Regions from separate parts of the Homo sapiens genome. Here region 1 is linked to region 2. Evidence: promoter capture Hi-C in 16 types of primary human blood cells and fetal thymus (Javierre and others, 2016). All regions are on one chromosome and are shown on one strand. The core of a region is centred on a gene start or on the middle of the fragment in contact, and the rest is flanking DNA. Distances in the headings are between cores, read along the strand shown.

Evidence for each region. The method cuts DNA at HindIII sites, captures the fragments that hold promoters and counts their contacts. A CHiCAGO score of 5 or more calls a contact.
Region 1: a fragment that was not itself captured here is called in contact with the fragment with the promoter of SELL in region 2 in 1 of 17 cell types (neutrophils); the score reaches 5.5 in neutrophils.

The regions. Positions count from the first base shown.
Region 1 is chr1:169,370,395-169,376,350 of GRCh38, reverse strand. All of the region lies in intron 2 of BLZF1 (basic leucine zipper nuclear factor 1), which reads right to left. Among named protein-coding and RNA genes, the nearest start is that of BLZF1, 5.2 kb to the right of the region's middle. The HindIII fragment of the contact is 3,501 bases long and covers 1,104-4,604 here.
Region 2 is chr1:169,710,200-169,716,477 of GRCh38, reverse strand. It overlaps SELL (selectin L), which reads left to right and starts at 4,858. Exons shown (of 9, transcript NM_000655.5): 1 at 4,858-4,982; 2 at 5,961-6,042. The coding sequence starts at 4,980. The HindIII fragment of the contact is 5,813 bases long and covers 3,218-6,278 here.

The DNA.
Region 1 (5,956 bases), core at 1,605-4,104, 340 kb after region 2:
ACAAGAGATTTGGAATCAGAATATTTGGTTCTGACTTTTACTTTCTAGTATAACCCTGGGTAAATAATTTAATCTTCCATGAATCTCTATTTCCTAATTTGCAAAACGGAGATCATAACAACTTTGCTATAGAATTTTGGTAAGAAAAAATGTAATAAGATGAAATGCTTGGCATACTGTAGACACTCAATAATGTTAGTTAAAATAAATGTCAGCTATATAGATGCATATTTGAAACCATCTACATCATAAGAGATTCATCTGTTTTGTGAACTCTTGGAGTAAGAGGAAGCAACATATATGTTACACCGAAAAATTTATTAAGAAAAGATTCAATCCTATTCTTAGGCCTAACAGTTTATGTCCTGCTTACACAAGTGAAACTACACTGGATTGTCAGATTAAACATCCTTATACCTCACTTTCACCATATCATACCCAAATTCTTTTATTGTTCTCTCATTCCCTCTAGTGGCTTTCAATTTATTTTGAGTGCACTGTATTCCCAATAAAATGCCTTGCATGTAGTGTGTGTGTATATATATATATATGTATATATGTTATAAACAATAAATGAATGATAACAAGGGGAGGGACAAAAGACGAGCACACAGATCAGTAACAATGGTTATAATGATGAACTCTGAGTGGTCACGGGCAGCAAACATGATGCTGGGTACCTAATGAAGGCTAGACATTCTATGAGGTAAGACCACTATGCTTAAGAAATTTACTACCTAATTTAGGGGACAGAACATACATATAAAAAGATAAAATGTATTACAGGATAATATATAATAAGTGTGCAGGTAAGTGGTATAAAAATATTTCAATAGAAATTTTATGTCTATAGAAACATTAAGGACAATCATGAACTACTGATTGGTCTTCAGTGAATTCATCACTGTCCAGCCAGACCATATATATATATATATATATATATATATATATATATATGTTTTATATATATATGTTTTATATGTATATATGTTTTTTATATATATGTTTTATATATATATGTGTGTGTGTAATGTAATCTCCTAAAACAAAGACTTAAAACAGAATTCCTTTTATACTTGTAACAGTAATAAATTTCGTAAGCTTAACATATTTTTTATTTTATGGCTAGAATATATTCCCTTCAAGTTAATATAGCATTTACTTTCTTATTCTACTGTTGAATATTTAGACTCTTTACAATTTTTCACTATAATAAATAAGGCTTTATTGAACACTTTTATGCCTACATATTTTTCTTAACTTCTGAGTTATTTTTTCAAATAAATTCCCAAGCATAAAATTAATGGGTTTGGTGAAGATCTGTACGGCCGAAATGCCTTCGAAAATCACTCTACCAGTGTATCTGTGGATCTATGCCTAATATCCTTACTATTTATTTATTTGCATGCTCAATACCTATGATTTATATTGTACTTAAAAATAAATAAGAATACATGTAAACTGTTTAGAATGGTATTTGACACAGTAAGCACTCATTAAATGTTAGGTCCTATTGCTTTTATTATTCTTTAAATAAATTCCTAATAAACTTTGGATGTTGATATAGACAGAAATAAAGTTAATTTATTTAATGCCATAAAATACAATTCTGACTTTCATTCTGTTATGTAAATCTTAAAGTTATATTGCTAGACTATAGGACTATTTATTCAAGTAACAGATTTACTTTTTTCAAATTTTTCCCATGTAGAAATGTTCTGGGAACCTCGAGTTATGTTAATTAGACAGGAGGTGGAAACATAGCTGAGGTATAATTAATGTGTTCTATTTTACAAAACATTTTACATTAGAATAAAATCGTGTCATTTCCATATGAAATGTAAACTAAGTTTAAACACCCCTTGGGCCTTGGGATTGACTCTACTTTTAAAAAGATAAACAAAGGAATACTTCAGAAAGTGAAATAAAGGCCTAACATGCTGGGTTTGGTAAATTAGTTAAAACAAAGCATGGTAGCACTGACAAGGAGAACTTCCACTGAATCATTTAAAAACAGCTTACTGCAGCCTTGACTTCCTGGGCTCAGGTGATCCTCCCACCTCAGCCTCCCAAGTAGATGGGACTACAGGCATGTGCCACCATGACCAAATAATTTTTTGTATTTTTTTTGTATTTTTTTTTTTTTTTGTAGAGACAGGGTTTCATCATGTTGTCCAGAATGGTCTTGAAATCCTAGGCTCAAGCAATTCTCTGGCCTCAGCCTCCCAAAGTGCTTGGATTACAGATGTGAGCCATCACACCCAGCTACCTGTATTCTTAAAATCTGATTTTAAGTTTGTCTAAACTTAACTAACTTGTCTAATCTTGTCAATAAGACATTCTGGCATTTAAGAAGTAACACAGAATCATGTATTAACTATAAATTAATAAAAACCATCAACAATAAAAACACGCACTACAGCCATGGTTCAGGCCCACTGAGGCTGAGGAAATAAAAAACAGGTGTGATACTTCCATTATGGTCAAATAAAATTTCTAGGCAAGCTGTAACATTTTTGAGTTGGAATTTTAAGTAACAGAGATTCAAGAACAAATTACAAAATGATTAAAGTTAAATTTAAAAGGCAAAGAACCATTAATAGGTATTTAACAGAAATCTCTTTTTGAACAAAATACCTTGTTGGAAAATCAAGAAGTTCAACCAACTTGTTTCCACCCCAATTTACTCTTAACTTTATTTAAACTGTTCTACTTACTCAAGCATTTATGAATATCAAAGTTGTATTATATATTACGTGAGAGCTCCCGCTCAGTAATAACTATGATTCTAGCTAATGTGCATAGGTAAACAGGCCGTAAGAGCCAGGGCTTAACATTTTCTCACCTGGTAACTTTCGTAATTCGATTTTTCCTTGTGACATACCTAGAAACCTTTATTACATATGCAGTAGGCACAATCCAGGACACATTTACGAATAATTACCTTCTCTCAATTGGGAAGACAAGGACCTATGGTAACAGCTCCATAATTATGAGTAACGCTTAAGTCAAGAAAAACACCAATCCTTATTCTTCCCCACTATTTGAAGGGAACCAACAAAACAATCCTTAAATTATTCATCATCATTACTTCCACCTGTGATCAATTATCAATGAATTAAAACATATCTAAGGTTTGCTCATTCGTATTGCCTACCAGGATTGGTGAAATGTAGGGAAAGAACAAAGAAGGTCACTAGTCTAACATTCTAGGATGGGAGCTGGCAAACTTTTTCTGTAAAGGACCAGAGAGTAAATATTTTAGGCTTTGTGAACCAAAAGGTAAAATTGAGGATACCATGTAAGTATTTAATAAGAGAAAAAAAATTTATTGATGAAATTCAAACTATAACAACAATAATTGAAAACAATTTTTTGATAACATAGGTCTAATAATGGGAAGAACAGATTTTTTTTTAATTCAGGATAATGTTTGGCTTAAATAGTGTTAATGTCCACTATTATCAAACTGATTGCAGATATTCTCAGGAGGCTGAGGGCCACAATTTGCCAACCCTTGCTCTAGAATATTGAGGCAAAAAAAAATTTATTGTCTGTCATTGAACAAATATTTCTCTTTTATTCATAAAACTTCAATCTATGATGAGAGGTACTCTAAGTCAGCAGAATGGGGTAGTGAAAAGAAATCTAACTCACTAGAGCCTGAGTTAAAATAACTTAAGTCCCTACTGCCATGTATTGTGTGACCTTGGACAAAGCACTTAACCTCATCCTCCTCCCATCCCTTGGTGCTTTCAGAGTAATGCAAACATGGTAGTATATATTTTAAAAATAATTTGTTTCTCTTGTAGACTAGACTGTTGGGAGCTCTTCAGGGTATGGACCGCCTCCTAATCTTTGTGTCATGAACTAATAAAATGGTCCTTGTCACAGAGAAAATGAATAAATGCTTACTGAAGCTCATTAGTCTGTTAATACACTACCTAGAGTGTTTCATTTTTAACATCCAAAAACTAACCCATTTAAAAACTGCTTTATTTTTTTTCCTCTACCCTAAATCATTAATTCCTAACTTGGTTATAGTCTGAAAGACTTTCCAGAACATATACAAATTCAGCTATGATACAGTTAAACAAATTAGGGATTGTCATGTGGTAATTTTAAATCAAGAGTCTTTTTAAATGTCACCCATATCACCTAATAAAGTTTAGTTATTATTAAATTAGTAAAATAAGTTACATACAATGGACTTAAGAGTAACATCGAGATTTACTGAAGTGGAATCTAAGCATTCTTCTTACCACAGGCTCTATGGATAGAGATCCCTGGTCAAATAAGTGTGGGCAATGTTGCATACTGCATCTCTACAGAGTTTCAATGTACATTAGTATTAAAGTTATACTATAGGACTCTGAGAGGTCCCATAGTATAGCCTCTCTTTTAATACAGCATTTATCAAATTTATCTGCTCATGGAATATCTTTTTTACCTAACACCTATTATTCTACAGAACTAGTGTTAGACTATTTTATGGAATCAAAAATATTTAAATGTCTCAGACCTTTCTATTTGGTCTACTATTACTAAACTAGTTGACTTTAATAGCTTTATTTTCAATTTTAATCCCACATCCAAGAAAAGCTTTGGATTTTAAGTTTCTAATTGTTACTATTTACTGTATGTTTCCCTTTCAGAAACAGCACTAGCAGCCATGATACAACCCTCTTATGATGACAGTGCTGCTCAAATGTCTTCTGAGAGGAAGTTCTGTTGCTATACCAAACAACCGTACTTATCTCCTGAGGCAGTTACAGGAAGCACAGACAACTGACAAATGTCAACCAAGTACACCTTTTCACAGGCCATGCAATACAAGTAACTTTTGTTCACTAACATCAGATGACAGATTAAATAGAAATATGGCTAATAGAATTATTTTCCTTACTGGATAATTAAGATCACACAAAATAATGTTTGTTAAAGTGCCTTATAACTCTAATCCTCATTAAAAACAAGTAATAATAAATATTAAAAAGTAATTTAATTTCACAGAGAACTTGCCAGTACTTCTAATGACTAATCATAATATTGTATTTAGTTTTTGCTTTTTGACAAGCACCATGTTGGTTGCTTTCACATTAATTATTTAACTGCTCTTATTTCCCATTAATCCCCAGTTTATTACTTTCATTACAGTCTCTGACTTGCTTATCTAATGGTATAAAAGCCTTCTGGTGACTTATGAAATGCTGTTGCAAAGCTGAATTAAATTCAATTAAATATTTATTAGCATGATCTTTCTTCCTTGTTTCTTAAACTTATTTCAACCTGCTTTTAGAGAGGGTTTGTGGCTGGAGGTCAGTTTGCTGAAAAATTGGCATCTAGAAAACAGTTTTCCATCTTTAACTGATGGTTCTAGCATGCAGAACTCAACCCATCCAAAGAATAAGCTGGGTCAGGAGAAGTTCACTATGGGACATGTTAAAATTGTTGCCTACAGCTATGTGAAGATGGCCAGTAGGCAGTAGTCTATAAGGGTATGAATCATAAAGAAGGAGATTAGGGATATAGATAGATTTGGAAGTCATTTATATAGATAATTACTGAAGTCATGAGAGTAGAAAAGAAACAGTGGTGGAAAGTGTTGATATTTAAAAGATAAATAAGAAGGAGAAGAGGCTGAAAAAGAAAGAGAGAAGATACAGCTACAGCAGGGCTGTCCAACAGAATTTTCTTCAATGATTGAAATAGCTACTCGCCATATTTGCCTACCGACCACTTGAAGTTTGGCAAGCGTCATTGAGAAACTGAATTTTTAATTTTTAAAAAATATTAATTTAAATTCAAATAGCCACATGTAATTACCGCATTGGACAGTGAAAGGCTACAGAGTAGACTGAAAATAAAAGTGATGTCATGGAAGTCATCAAAAGAACGTATCTCAAAAGGCAGGGAATGGTCAACAGTATTAAATATTAGAGAGGACAAATCAGCT
Region 2 (6,278 bases), core at 3,609-6,108:
ATTTGGCTACAGGAGAATGGTTCTGGTTGTACAGAATTTAGAATTCGTTCGCATTTAAATGGTATTCAAAGTCAAGAGTGTGAATTGGACCACCAAGTTAGTGAGGTTAGACACAGAAGAGCAAAGCGGTGATCTCTGGAGTACTCCAAGGGTTTGGAGGTTGGGGAGATGAGGGAGAATCAACACATGATACAGAAGAAATAGCCAGTGAAGTAGGAGGAAAACCAGGAGCTCCCTGGTGAAGTAAGATGAGGATGGAGAATAGGCTGTTTGTGTTAGTGAAGTGTAGGACCTTGGTGAGAGCAGTCTCAGGGAATTGGTGTGGCTGAAAGCCTGATTGGACAAGCTTCAAGACAGAATTACAGCCTGAGCAACATAGTGAGATCCTGTCTCTACAAAAATAAAAAATAAAAAAATTAGTCGAGGGTTGGGGCATGTGCCTGTAGTCTTAGCTACATGGGAGGCTGAGGGAGAAGGGGCACTAGACCCTAGGATTCCTTGAGTGCAATGAGCTATGATCGCACCACTGCACTCTAGCCTGAGTGACAGAGCAGCATTCCCATCTCTTAGAGAAAGAGAGAGAGAGATTGAGAGAATTAGAGGAGAGGACTTAGAAAAAAGTAAGTCTAGATACTTCTTTCAGGGTATAGTGGGAGCACTGGCACTTTCACAAGTCTCCCTGGCTCCACGTTTTTCCCCATTTTACCATGTCTTCCAAGTTCCTGCCATAAGTTCAGCTTAATGATCAAGAGCATGGATTTGGAACTGATTGGCCTCTGTTCAAATTCCCAACCATGTCTCTTACTAGTTATGTGACTAAGGCAACTTTCTTTTTTTAAACTTTTTTTAAATTATACTTTAATTTCTGGGATACATGAGCAGAACGTGCAGGTTTGTTACATAGGTATACATGTGCCATGGTGGTTTGCTGCATTCATCAACCTGTCATCTACATTAGGTATTTCTCCTAATGCTGTTCCTCCCCTAGCCCCACATCCCCTGACATGCCCCAGTGTGTGATGTTCCCCTCCCTGTGTCCATGTGTTCTCATTGTTCAACTCCCACTTATGAGTGAGAATGGGTAATGTTTGGTTTTCTGTTCCAGTGTTAGTTTGCTGAGAATGACGGTTTCCAGCTTCATCCATGTCCCTGCAAAGGACATGAACTCATCCTTTTTTATGGCTGTATAGTATTCCATGATGTATATGTGCCACATCATCTTTATCCAGTTTATCATTGGTGGGCATTTGGGTTGGTTCCAACTCTTTGCTGTTGTGAATAGTGCCTCAATAAACATAAGTGTGCATGTGTCTTTATCGTAGAATGATTTATAATCCTTTGGGTATATACCCAGTAATGGGATTGCTGGGTCAAATGGTTTTTCTAGTTATAGATCCTTGAGAAATCGCCACATTGTCTTCCACAATGATTGAACTAATTTACACTTCCACCAACACTGTAAAAAGCATTCTTATTTCTCCACATCCTCTCCAGCATCTGTTGTTTCCTGACTTTTTAATAATCGCCATTCTAACTGGCATGAGATGGCATCTCATTGTGGTTTTGATTTGCATTTCTCTAATGACCAGTGATGATGAGCTTTTTTTCATATGTTTGTTGACTGCATAAACTTCTTCTTTTGAGAAGCATCTGTTCATATCCTTCACTCACTTTTTGATGGTGTTGTTTGTTTTTTCTTGTAAATTTGTTTAAGTTTCTTGTAGATTTTGGATATTAGCCCTTTGTCAGGTGAATAGATTGCAAAAATTTTCTCCCATTCTGTAGGTTTCCTGTTCACTTTGATGATAGTTTTTTTTTTTCTACTGTGCAGAAGCTCTTTAGTTTAATTAGATCCCATTTGTCAATTTTGGCTTTTGTTGCTGTTGCTTTTGGTGTTTTAGTCATGAAGTCTTTGCCCATACCTACGTCCTGAATGGTATTGCCTAGGTTTTCTCCTAGAATTTTTATGGTTTTAGGTCTTCCATTTAAGTCTTTAATCCATCTTGAGTTAATTTTTATATAAGGTGTAAGGAAGGGATCCAGTTTCAGTTTTCTGCATATGGCTAGCCAGTTTTCCCAACATCATTTATTAAATGGGGAATCCTTTCCCAATTGCTTCTTTTTGTCAGCTTTGTCAAAGATCAGATGGTTGTAGATGTGTGGTGTTATTTCTGATGCCTCTGTTCTGTTCCGTTGGTCCATATATCTGTTTTTGTACCAGCACCATGCTGTTTTGGTTACTATAGCCTTGTAGTATAGTTTGAAGTCAGGTAGCATGATGCCTCCAGCTTTGTTCTTTTTGCTTAGGATTGTCTTGGCTATACAAGCTCTTTTTTGGTTCCATATGAAATTTAAAGTAGTTTTTTTCTAATTCTGTGAAAAAAGTCAGTAGTAGCTTGATGGGGATAGCACTGAATCTATAAATTACCTTGGGCAGTATGGTCATTTTCATGATATTGATTCTTCCTACCCATGAGCATGGAATGTTTTTCCATTCATTTGTGTCCTCTCTTATTTCCTTGAGCAGTGGTTTGTAGTTCTCCTTGAATAGGTCCTTCACATTCCTTGTAAGTTGGATTCCTAGGTATTTTATTCTCTTTGTAGCAATCGTGAATGGGAGTTCACTCATGATTTGGCTCTCTGTTTGTCTATTATTGCTGTATAGGAATTCTTGTGATTTTTTCACATTGATTTTGTAACCTGAGACTTTGCTGAAGTTGCTGATCAGTTTAAGGAGATTTTGGGCTGAGACAATGGGATTTTCTAAATATACAATCATGTCATCTGCAAACAGACACAATTTGACTTCCTCTCTTCTATTTGAATACACTTTATTTCTTTCTCTTGCCTGATTGCCCTGGCCAGAACTTCCAATACTATGTTGAACAGGAGTGGTGAGAGAGGCATACTTGTCTTGTGCCAGTTTTTAAAGGGAACGCTTTCAGTTTTTGCCCATTCAGTATGCTATTGGCTGTGGGTTTGTCATAAATAGCTCTTATTATTTTGAGATACGTTCCATCAATACCTAGTTTATTGAGAGTTTTTAGCATGAAGGGGTGTTGAATTTTATCCAAGGCCTTTTCTGCATCTATTGAGATAATCACGTGGTTTTTGTGATTGGTTCTGTTTACGTAATGGATTCTGTTTATTGATTTGTGTATGTTGAACCAGCCTTGCATTCCAGGGATGAAGCCAACTTGATTGTGGTTGATAAGCTTTTTGATGTGCTGCTGGATTCAGTTTGCCGTATTTTATTGAGTATTTTCGCAATGATGTTCATCAGGGATATTGGCCTGAAATTTTCTTTTTTTGTTGTGTCTCTGCCAGGTTTTAGTATCAGGATGATGCTGGCCTCATAAAATGAGTGAGGGAGGAGTTCCTCTTTTTCTATTCTCTGGAATAGTTTCAGAAGGAATGGTACCAGCACCTCTTTGTACCTCTGGTAGAATTTGGCTGTGAATCCATCTGGTCCTGGGCTTTTTTTAGTTGGTAGGCTATTAATTGCTGCCTTAATTTCAGAACTTGTTATTAGTCTATTCAGGGATTTGACTTCTTCCTGGTTTAGTCTTGGGAGGGTGTATGTGTCCAGGAATTTATCCATTTCTTCTAGATTTTCTAGTTTATTTGTGTAAAGATGTTTATAGTAATCTCTGATGGTAGTTTGTATTTCTACGGGATCAGTGGTAATATCCCCTTTACCATTTTTTATTGTGTCTATTGATTCTTCTTTCTTATTAGTCTAGCTAGTGGTCCATCTATTTTGTTAATCTTTTCAAAATGCAGCTCCTGGATTTATTGATTTTTTGAAGGCTTTTTCGTGTCTCTACCTCCTATGGTTCTGCTCTGATCTTAGTTATTTCTTGTCTTTCGCTAGTTTTTGAATTTGTTTCTTAACCTCTTTGAGACTCTTTAGAATGGGGATAATAATCATATCTATAGCAGAGAGCTGTTATAAAGATTAAACAATATAATAAATATGGGGCGCTGAGCTTCAGAGTTTTTGTTGTTGTTATTATTATTTTCCTAAAAATGCAAATCTGATTTGCATTTGACTCATTGACTCACATCAGTGGGTCTTCCTTTTTATTGTCCTTCATCATATGGGTCCTAATTTCACATGCAGTCTTATAAAACCATCTCATTTTATAGTCCAAGAATATTAAAGGTACTTGTAGGCTCCCAAACCTACACGGTGAAAAGCTAGAGAGCATGGGCTCTCTTCAGGGGTTAACTTCAGGAAGTGCCACTAACAAGGACGTCCACTAGGTGGTGAGCAAGGAAAGACGGAGGTGAAGGAACCGAAACGAGTCAAGTCCACTGCTTAGCTCTACTGAAGTTTTGCAAACATCATAAATATGTCTGAAATGCAGTTTTGATTTGTAGTATTTGCAATTTCCAAGGGCCATTTACCACAGGTAGCCAAGAGTTAGTTTAGCATTTATGAAAAAGATAGGGGAGGGTGGTGGAAAAGAAGGAGGAGGAGGAGAGAGAGAAGGAGGAAGAGGAGAACAAGAACCAAACAAAAACAAGAACAAGAACAAGTAGAAGAAGAGGAGCAGGAGGAAAAAGAAGAGGAAGAAGAACAGCAACAACAATGAGTGAAGGAGGAGGAGGGTAAGGAAAGATGCATAGGAGAATGGAAGGAAGGATAGAAAGGAGGGAAGGAAGAGAGAATCTAGTCACATTACTTTCTGATCAGCAGTTCATTTTTGTCTCAGTGGGAGGCAATAGAGGCCAGTCTAGGAAAGGGGTGGGGAAAGAGGAAAGAGAAGTGCAGGAGGAAGGGGAGGGAAAAGGGGAGGAGGAGGAGGATGTGAGACTGGGTTAGAGAAATGAAAGAAAGCAAGGCTTTCTGTTGACATTCAGTGCAGTCTACCTGCAGCACAGCACACTCCCTTTGGGCAAGGACCTGAGACCCTTGTGCTAAGTCAAGAGGCTCAATGGGCTGCAGAAGAACTAGAGAAGGACCAAGCAAAGCCATGGTGAGCCTTTCAGCCTAAAAGACGTTTAGATGCTCAGATAGAAACTCTTGGGGTTGTAGAGGCAGGTGGCAAGGATAGGAATCACCCCATTTCAATTCTGGTTTTAAATAATATAGAAACTAAACATTTTCTCAGACCCTCAAAAAAAGTGATCCTGAAATCTTTCTTCTCAGATATGCTGATTTCCTCTTCTTGACTTTGTCTCTGGGGAGACTCTTGAAGAAATACTATTGAAATCAGATCTTTTGCAATAAACACTGTGTCTACCTGAGAAGTGATATGCTTTGGAAGATAGAATTTTTTTAAAATTATACTTTAAGTTCTAGGGTACATGTGCACAACATACAGGTTTGTCACACATGTATACATGTGCCATGTTGGTGTGCTGCACCCATTAACTCGTCATTTACATTAAGTATATTTTAAGGTGTGCAGGAAATTTGTGACTTTGTCATTTCAGTTGCTCAAAAAGGTATTTCTTTTTATTAAAAAAAGAAATACTTTTCTTTCCTGGTGTCTGGCTATCTAATTTTTTTTTTTTTTAGGTATTTGAGGCATTGACCCATTATGATCAAGAGTGAGGCTATAACATTAAATATAAGCATCAATAGTTAATTAAGCAGCAACAATACTTTAAAAAATATACATAGTAAATATTAAATAGTTTTATCTAATAGCTCAGCAGAAAAGCAGGTATAAAAATTACCAAACCATAGAAAAAATTCAGGGCAGTACCGATTAGCAACTTGAGACTAAAGCGTAAAAATAAAATAGAACAAAACAAAACTGTGCATCAGTTCTGATGTAAATTTGAAGTAATTTTTCATCTATGTCTGAGAAACCTGTTACCTCAGACAGGGTTAGTAGACATATGTGTTTTATTCTGATTATTAAGAAAGTTGTAAGCACCACCTCAAAGGCTATAAATGTGTGGTTTAAGAGTATACATCTAAATATAATTTTGTATTTCATTTGCAGATATTTCCATGGAAATGTCAGAGCACCCAGAGGGACTTATGGAACATCTTCAAGTTGTGGGGGTGGACAATGCTCTGTTGTGGTATGTTATGATATTTATATATCGCTAAGTCTATTTTACTTATATTCATTTTTCTTAAATATCCACTAGTTATACATAGTCTAAGGGAAAATTATTTCACAGAGCTGTTAATTCTATCCCTTCTGTAAACATCTCTTTTCTTCTTACCTTTAGTTCTTCCCCAGAAACTCCTGAACACTATTTTTAACCTATAATAGCCCATGCTGTAGAGTTCAAATCCCAATAACCCCACAAAA